Linked DNA regions of Homo sapiens: region 1 is linked to region 2. Evidence: promoter capture Hi-C in human tissues and cell types (Jung and others, 2019). All regions are on one chromosome and are shown on one strand. The core of a region is centred on a gene start or on the middle of the fragment in contact, and the rest is flanking DNA. Distances in the headings are between cores, read along the strand shown. Region 1 overlaps LOC107984341 (a long non-coding RNA gene). Region 2 holds the start of SSH3 (slingshot protein phosphatase 3).

What was found. Contacts are between HindIII fragments. The study calls those that stand out against the background at their distance.
Region 1: a fragment that was not itself captured here is called in contact with the fragment with the promoter of SSH3 in region 2 in 3 of the 25 tissues and cell types used here (IMR-90 fibroblasts, dorsolateral prefrontal cortex and lymphoblastoid cells).

Annotation. Positions count from the first base shown.
Region 1 is chr11:67,112,120-67,115,279 of GRCh38, forward strand. LOC107984341 (a long non-coding RNA gene) reads right to left here. Exons shown (of 2, transcript NR_160735.1): 2 at 173-536. Among named protein-coding and RNA genes, the nearest start is that of KDM2A, 5.6 kb to the right of the region's middle. The HindIII fragment of the contact is 5,381 bases long and covers 1-3,160 here.
Region 2 is chr11:67,301,690-67,304,837 of GRCh38, forward strand. SSH3 (slingshot protein phosphatase 3) reads left to right here and starts at 1,841. Exons shown (of 14, transcript NM_017857.4): 1 at 1,841-2,002; 2 at 2,429-2,466; 3 at 3,084-3,148. The coding sequence starts at 1,937. It overlaps ANKRD13D (ankyrin repeat domain 13D), which reads left to right. Exons shown (of 15, transcript NM_207354.3): 14 at 43-134; 15 at 430-795. The coding sequence ends at 643. RefSeq lists enhancers at 991-1,508, 1,509-2,028. The HindIII fragment of the contact is 10,588 bases long and covers 1-3,148 here.

The DNA of each region.
Region 1 (3,160 bases), core at 131-2,630, 190 kb before region 2:
TAATCCCAGGCACTTTGGGAGGTCAAGGCAGGAGTATCACATGAGGCCAGGAGTTCGAGACCAGCCTGGGGAACATAGTGAGACCCTGTTTCTATGAAAAAAAAAATTACCAAGTAAAAAATTTTTTAAAAATAGGAAAACCAGAAATCCTTTTTTTTTCTTTTTTTTTTTGAGATGGAGTTTCACTCTTGTTGTCCAGGCTGGAGTGCAAAAGCGCGATTTCGGGTCACTGCAACCTCTGCCTCCCGGGTTCAAGTGATTCTCCTGTCTCAGCCTCCCAAGTAGCTGTGATTACAGGCATGTGCCACCATGCCCAGCTAATTTTGTATTTTTAGTAGACATGGGGTTTCTCCATGTTGGTCAGGCTGGTCTCGAACTCCCAACCTCAGGTGATCTGCCCACCTTGGCCTCCCAAAGTGCTGGGATTACAGGCATGAGGCACTGTGCAAGACCTCAGAAATCCTTTCTAAAATAAGTTGTCTTCTAGTTTCCAAAGGGTATTCATGTCCATTAGTCCATTTCACTCCACAACAATCCTAGGAGGAAACAGGGCAGGAGTCACTACTTCTGTTTTATTTATATACATTATATATATAAAATATATATGTTTTAAATATATGTTTTATATATATTATATATATTTATATACATGTATTATGTTTTATATATATTATATATATTTATATACATATATTATATATAATATATATTTTTTTGAGACAGAGTCTTGCTCTGTTGCCCAGGCTAGAGTGCAGTGGCACGATCTCGGGCTCACTGCAACCTCCGCCTGCCTCCCAGGCTTAAGTGATTCTCCTACCTCAGCCTCCCGAGTAGCTGGGAATACAGGCATGTGCCACCGCGCCCAGCTAATTTTTGTATTTTTAGTAGAGATAGGGTTTCACAATGTTGCCCAGGCTGGTCTTGAACTCCTGACCTCAGGTGATCTGCCCGCCTTGGTCTCCCAAAGTGCTGGGATTACAGGCTTAAGCCACCGCGCCCAGCCTACTCTGTTTTATTAAAGAGAACTGAAGTTCTGACGGGTTCAGAACCTCTCACAAAGTGGCTGAAGGAACACCAGCTTTAGCAGAAACTGATGAAAGGTAGCGAATGCCCTTGAAGAAGATAAAAAAAGATCAGACTCATTGGGAGGGGCTAAACAGGTCTAAGTGCTTAAGCATTTGGCCCTTTGGGGAAGTGGCTGGAGCCCTGTATGACTGTCACCACCAACCCAAGCTGGGAATCTAGTGCAAGGTTGCAAACAGACCCTGAAACCCCAGGGTGCCAGAAACTTCCCCCAGCAAGCACAGGTGTAGCTGAGGCACAGGCTCTGCATCTTAGAGCTCCACTCTCGGGCACAGCAGGAAGTCCCACCCTTTTAGAAGTGAGAAATGAGGGTGGCCTGGCCCCAAAGCGAAGCTAAGGCTGCTAAAGAGCAGGTGGGGCCCAGACACTGCTGCAGTTGCCCCAACAGCCAAAGTACACCCCAGCGCTCAGGAGCAGTGGGTCTGCACAGCGGAAGGTGACATACCTGGAAAAGATGGCAGCAAGGAAGCATGGGGCCAGGGAGGGTGGTGGTCCCATGGTCCCAAGGAAAGCGTCAGCCACATTCCATGCAAGAACCTCATGTGACACCCATGTTTGATGATCCAAGAATCTGCAGGGCATTTCTGCTTCATTTTTTTCCCCCTGATCAATTCAGGTTCCAAACTCAAAAAAAAAAAAAAAAGAAAAGAAAAGAAAAAAGAAAGAAAACTTTCAGCTGGGCGTGGTGGCTCACGGCTGTAATCCCAGCACTTTGGGAGGCGGAGGTGGGTGGATCACCAGGTCAGGAATTCGAGACCAGCCTGGCCAACATGGTGAAACCCCGTCTCTACTAAAAATACAAAAATTAGCCAGGCACGGTGGCGGGCACCTGTAATTCCAGCTACTCAGGAGGCTGAGACAGGTGAATCGCTTGAACCCAGGAGGTGGAGTTTGCAGTGAGCTGAGATCGCGCCACTGCACTCTAGCCTGGGCAACAGAGCGAGACTCCAACTCAAAAAAAGAAAAAAAAGAAAACTTTCTATCACTTAAAGCTTATAATCACCCCCCAACACCCTTTAACCCTAGAAGAAGTTTTCTTTCTTTTTTTCTTTTTTCCCGGGGTGGGGGGTGCGGGTGGAGGGAGATGTTCAGGAAATGGTTAAGTAACAAAATCAGAGAGCACGGGATTGAGGTGATTAAGGGCAACAAATGGATGGTAAAGGAAAGTGGGAAAGCCATTCAGTCAGATGATACTGGGCCAGGAGAGTGAGATGAACATGGAGGAGGGGGTGGGCCAAATGATGGAGAGAAGGCTGGAAAGAAAGAGACTTCAGGAGGCAGGTGATGAGGAGAAAGAGGCAGCTGGAGTCAGGGAAGAGGGAAGAATAGAAAGCGGAGACACCAGGGTCGGGGGTCGGGGAGAGAAACCAGGAGTTAGGATAGGGAAGAGGGCCGGGTGTGGTGGCTCATGCCTGTTATCCCAGCACTTTGGGAGGCAGAGGGGGGCGGATCACCTGAGACAGGGAGTTTGAGACCAGCCTGGCCAACATGGTGAAACCCTGTCTCTACTAAAAACACAAAAATTAGCCAGGCATGGTGGCGGGTGCTTGTAATCCCAACTTCTCAGGAAGCTGAGGCAGGAGAATTGCTTGTACCCGGGAGGTGGAGGTTGCAGCGAGCCAAGATCATGCCATTGCACTCCAGGCTGGGTGACACGGTGAGACTGTCTCAAAAAAAAAAAAAAAAAAAAAAGGGAGGGGGAAGAGAATCGAGGAATAAGTCATCACACTTAATGTCTATGCAAACTCTTGACTCACATGAAAACTTCAAGTTTCTTAAATATTGAAGCATCTTTACTTAAAACCTTCCTTCCCTTCTTTTTTTTTTTTTTTTTTTTTTTTAGAGACATGGTTTCACTGTCACTCAGGCTGAAGTGCAGTGGCATAGTCATAGTTCATAGTCCAACTCCTGGGCTCCAGCAATCCTCCACCTCAGTCTCTTTTTTTGTTTGTTTTTTTTTGAGACGGAGTCTCCCTCTGTTGCCCAGGCTGGAGTGCAGTGGCGCGATCTCGGCTCCCTGCAACCTCCGCCTCCCTGGTTCAAACGGTTCTCCTGCCTCAGCCTCCTGAGTGGCTGG
Region 2 (3,148 bases), core at 591-3,090:
CCACACGGCAGAAGTGACAGCTGTGGGCTCTGGTGGCTGCAGGTGACCGTCTGGGAAGCCCTGACCAACACCCGGCCCGGTGCCCGCCCTCCTCCCCAGGCCACGGTTTATGAGGAACAGCTTCAGCTGGAGCGGTGAGCCCCTCATGGGGCTGGCTGGGTCCCTGTCCCCCCAGCCCTGGCTTGGCGGGGAGGGGGATAGCAGGAAGGTGCTAGGACCCCAGGCCCTCTGCAAGGCCACCCTCTGTCAGCAGCGCTATCTGCCACCAAAGGTGGTGTGAGGGGTGGGGAAGCAGGGCCCTGCCTTGTCTCCTCTGCTTGCCACCCTGTCTTTGCCTTTGTCCTCCAAAGCCGGTCCCCAGCCCCTCGGCTTCTGCCCCAGCCTTGGCGCTCACTGGCCTGTTCTTCCCTCCCCTGCCCTGCCTGGAAGGGCCCTCCAGGAAAGCCTGCAGCTGTCCACAGAGCCCAGGGGCCCAGGATCCCCTCCCAGGACACCCCCAGCCCCCGGTCCACCCAGCTTTGAAGAGCAGCTGCGCCTGGCCCTGGAGTTGTCTTCACGGGAGCAGGAGGAGCGGGAGCGGCGCGGGCAGCAGGAGGAGGAGGACTTACAGCGGATCCTGCAGCTGTCACTCACTGAGCACTGAGCCATAGCCCCGGGAGGGCTGGCCAGGCCACTCCCTGCCCGCTTTTGTAATTTATTTATTTATAAACTCTCTGCTGCTGAGCTTGGGGCCTGGAGCCCCAGGAATGAGCAGGCAGGGGAGACTGAGATGGAAATAAAGAGACTGTCGCAGCAGGGCTGCTCTGCTCACTGGGCTGGAGCGGTGGGGACCCTGAAGGTGGGGCGCTGTGGAGAGGCACTGTGGATGGCGGCCTCAGACCTGGGCTTGAATCCTGGTCATGGTCCCCTTAGCCTATCTGAGCCTCAGTTTCTTCAGTTGTAAAATGAGGAGACCACCCCCCACCCTCCGCCCCTCAGGGCTGAAAGGAGCTGGCGAGAGTCACGTGTCCTTACCAAGCAGGCGTCCTGTGAAAGTCAGATCCCCTGTGCCCTGTCCCACCTGCTGGGGACCCGGTTCGTCCTGCCACCCAGCCTAGTCTTCTGGAAACCGGCCCACGTGCCTGCTGGGGAGGAAAAGCCTGGGTCCCCAGGCACCATTCACCTCCAGCTGGGAAGAGCCCCGACGCCGACCCCTGCAGCCAAGCCCAGGCCCTGGCCCTGACTGCGGCTTGTTCTCTGCGGGTGGGTTTGCGCAAGTCACTTCCGCCTGCGTAGCTGGAAGCCCTGCCCTGCTCGCCTCCGAGGTGGACCTGAGAGCCCCTCATGGGCTTCCTGGGTTATTTGTAAACCCCAGGCCGTTTTCCCCGGAAGCCTGTCTTCCAGTGGTTCCTGCGGAGTGGGAACGAGAAGGCCGACCAGCAGGGAGAAATGTTTGGGGTGGGGGCCCTTGGCCGAGGGCGCGCCGTGCCTGATCCTCTCTAGACCTGTCCCCCACCTCCCCACCTCAGCTCTGCCTCCCTAGGACCCGCCTCTGCAGGGCACAGGACGCTGGAGGCCCAGAACAGCTCAGGTGCTCCCGCTGGGCCGGCCCGGGCCGGGCGCTTCCTGGGAGGGGGACCAAACTCCCGGCCTTCAGCTCTTGCCCTCCGGGTCTCCGGGCTCCGCACCTGCGCCCGCCCCCGGCCTCGCCCCTGACCTGTGCCCAGGGGCTGGGCGGGCCGAACAGCGGAGACCGGAGGGGCGGGGCCCGGCCGCCCTGAGAAGCTCCGCGGGCCCGGCTGGGCGAGTGTCTGGCCCTTTAAGGGCCGCCCCCGAGGAGGTGCCAGGCCCGGGTGGCGCCGTCCGTCCTTCCTGGTCCTGCGGGTCCAGGACTGTCCGCGGGGTTGAGGGAAGGGGCCGTGCCCGGTGCCAGCCCAGGTGCTCGCGGCCTGGCTCCATGGCCCTGGTCACAGTGAGCCGTTCGCCCCCGGGCAGCGGCGCCTCCACGCCCGTGGGGCCCTGGGTGAGTGTGGTCCGGCCGTGGTGCCGCCCACGCAGTTGCTGCCCCGGCTTGGGAGCGCGTCCTGCCCGCCAGCGGGCTCCTCTCGAACGGGGACATGAGGAGGGGGCCCCGGGGCTCGGGCTGGAGGGCGCTGGGGGCCTCGAGGGTCTCTGGTACTGGCGCCGGGGCACAATCCAGAGCCCTGCGCGCCGCCCGGGCTGCGGAGGCCCCGATCTGAGCGCGCCCCCCGCCACACTCGGCGCCCACCCAGCCGACCTGGCCTTGGGCCGGGGCTCCACGGGGCCTCCCGGTGGGGCGTGGACTGGGGTGGGAAGACGATTGGCATCTGGCGCCTTTTCTGGCCTCCCCCAACTCTAGAATTCCTGAGAGAGGGGAGGGGACAGCCCTCCCCGCCCTCACCCTGCCCTGGGGCTGCTCTCTCCGCAGGACCAGGCGGTCCAGCGAAGGAGTCGACTCCAGCGAAGGTGAGCGCCACCTCCCCCACGCAGACACTTCCGTCTGCCCCGGGCCTGGCCACGGCCGTCCTGGGCTCCAGCTGCAGGGACAGAAAGCTCCCCGGAGGACGCGCAGCGAAGCCCACTGCCAAATTTGTGGGGCAGCGTTCCCGGTGGGGCCGGCTGGTGGGCTCGCGGTAGGGCGGCCTTTGCCTTCACCCTCCCCCTGGTCAGCTGGGGCTTCCTCATCCACTGCCCTGGGCTTTGGCTCAGGTGGTGGCCACGGGCCGAACGGCAGGAGGGCATGATGGGCCTGAGGACTCCTGGGTCCCCGACCATGTTCCCAGCAGCACTTGAGTTAAACAGGTGGGAGGGGAAAAGGAGCAGCCCCCTCTCCCCACAGATGAGCTAGAGTAGAGGGGCTGAGAGCTTGGAAGCCCCCAAGACTGGTTCTCAGCAATATTGCCAAGGGGCCGAGGGGTTAGAAATGCAGATGCTCAGGCCTCCACTCTAGACCTATCGACCGCGTGGGGGCCCATGAATCCGTGTAGACAAGGGCTGCAGGTGAATGTGATGCATGCTAGACTTTGAGAGCCCCTACCCTAAGGGGAATGAGGAGCCATGACAGTTGCCCACTGCCCTGCCAGGCAGAGCTTTGCGGTGCTCCGTGGGGCTGTCCTGGGACTGCAGGATGGAGGGGACAATGATGATG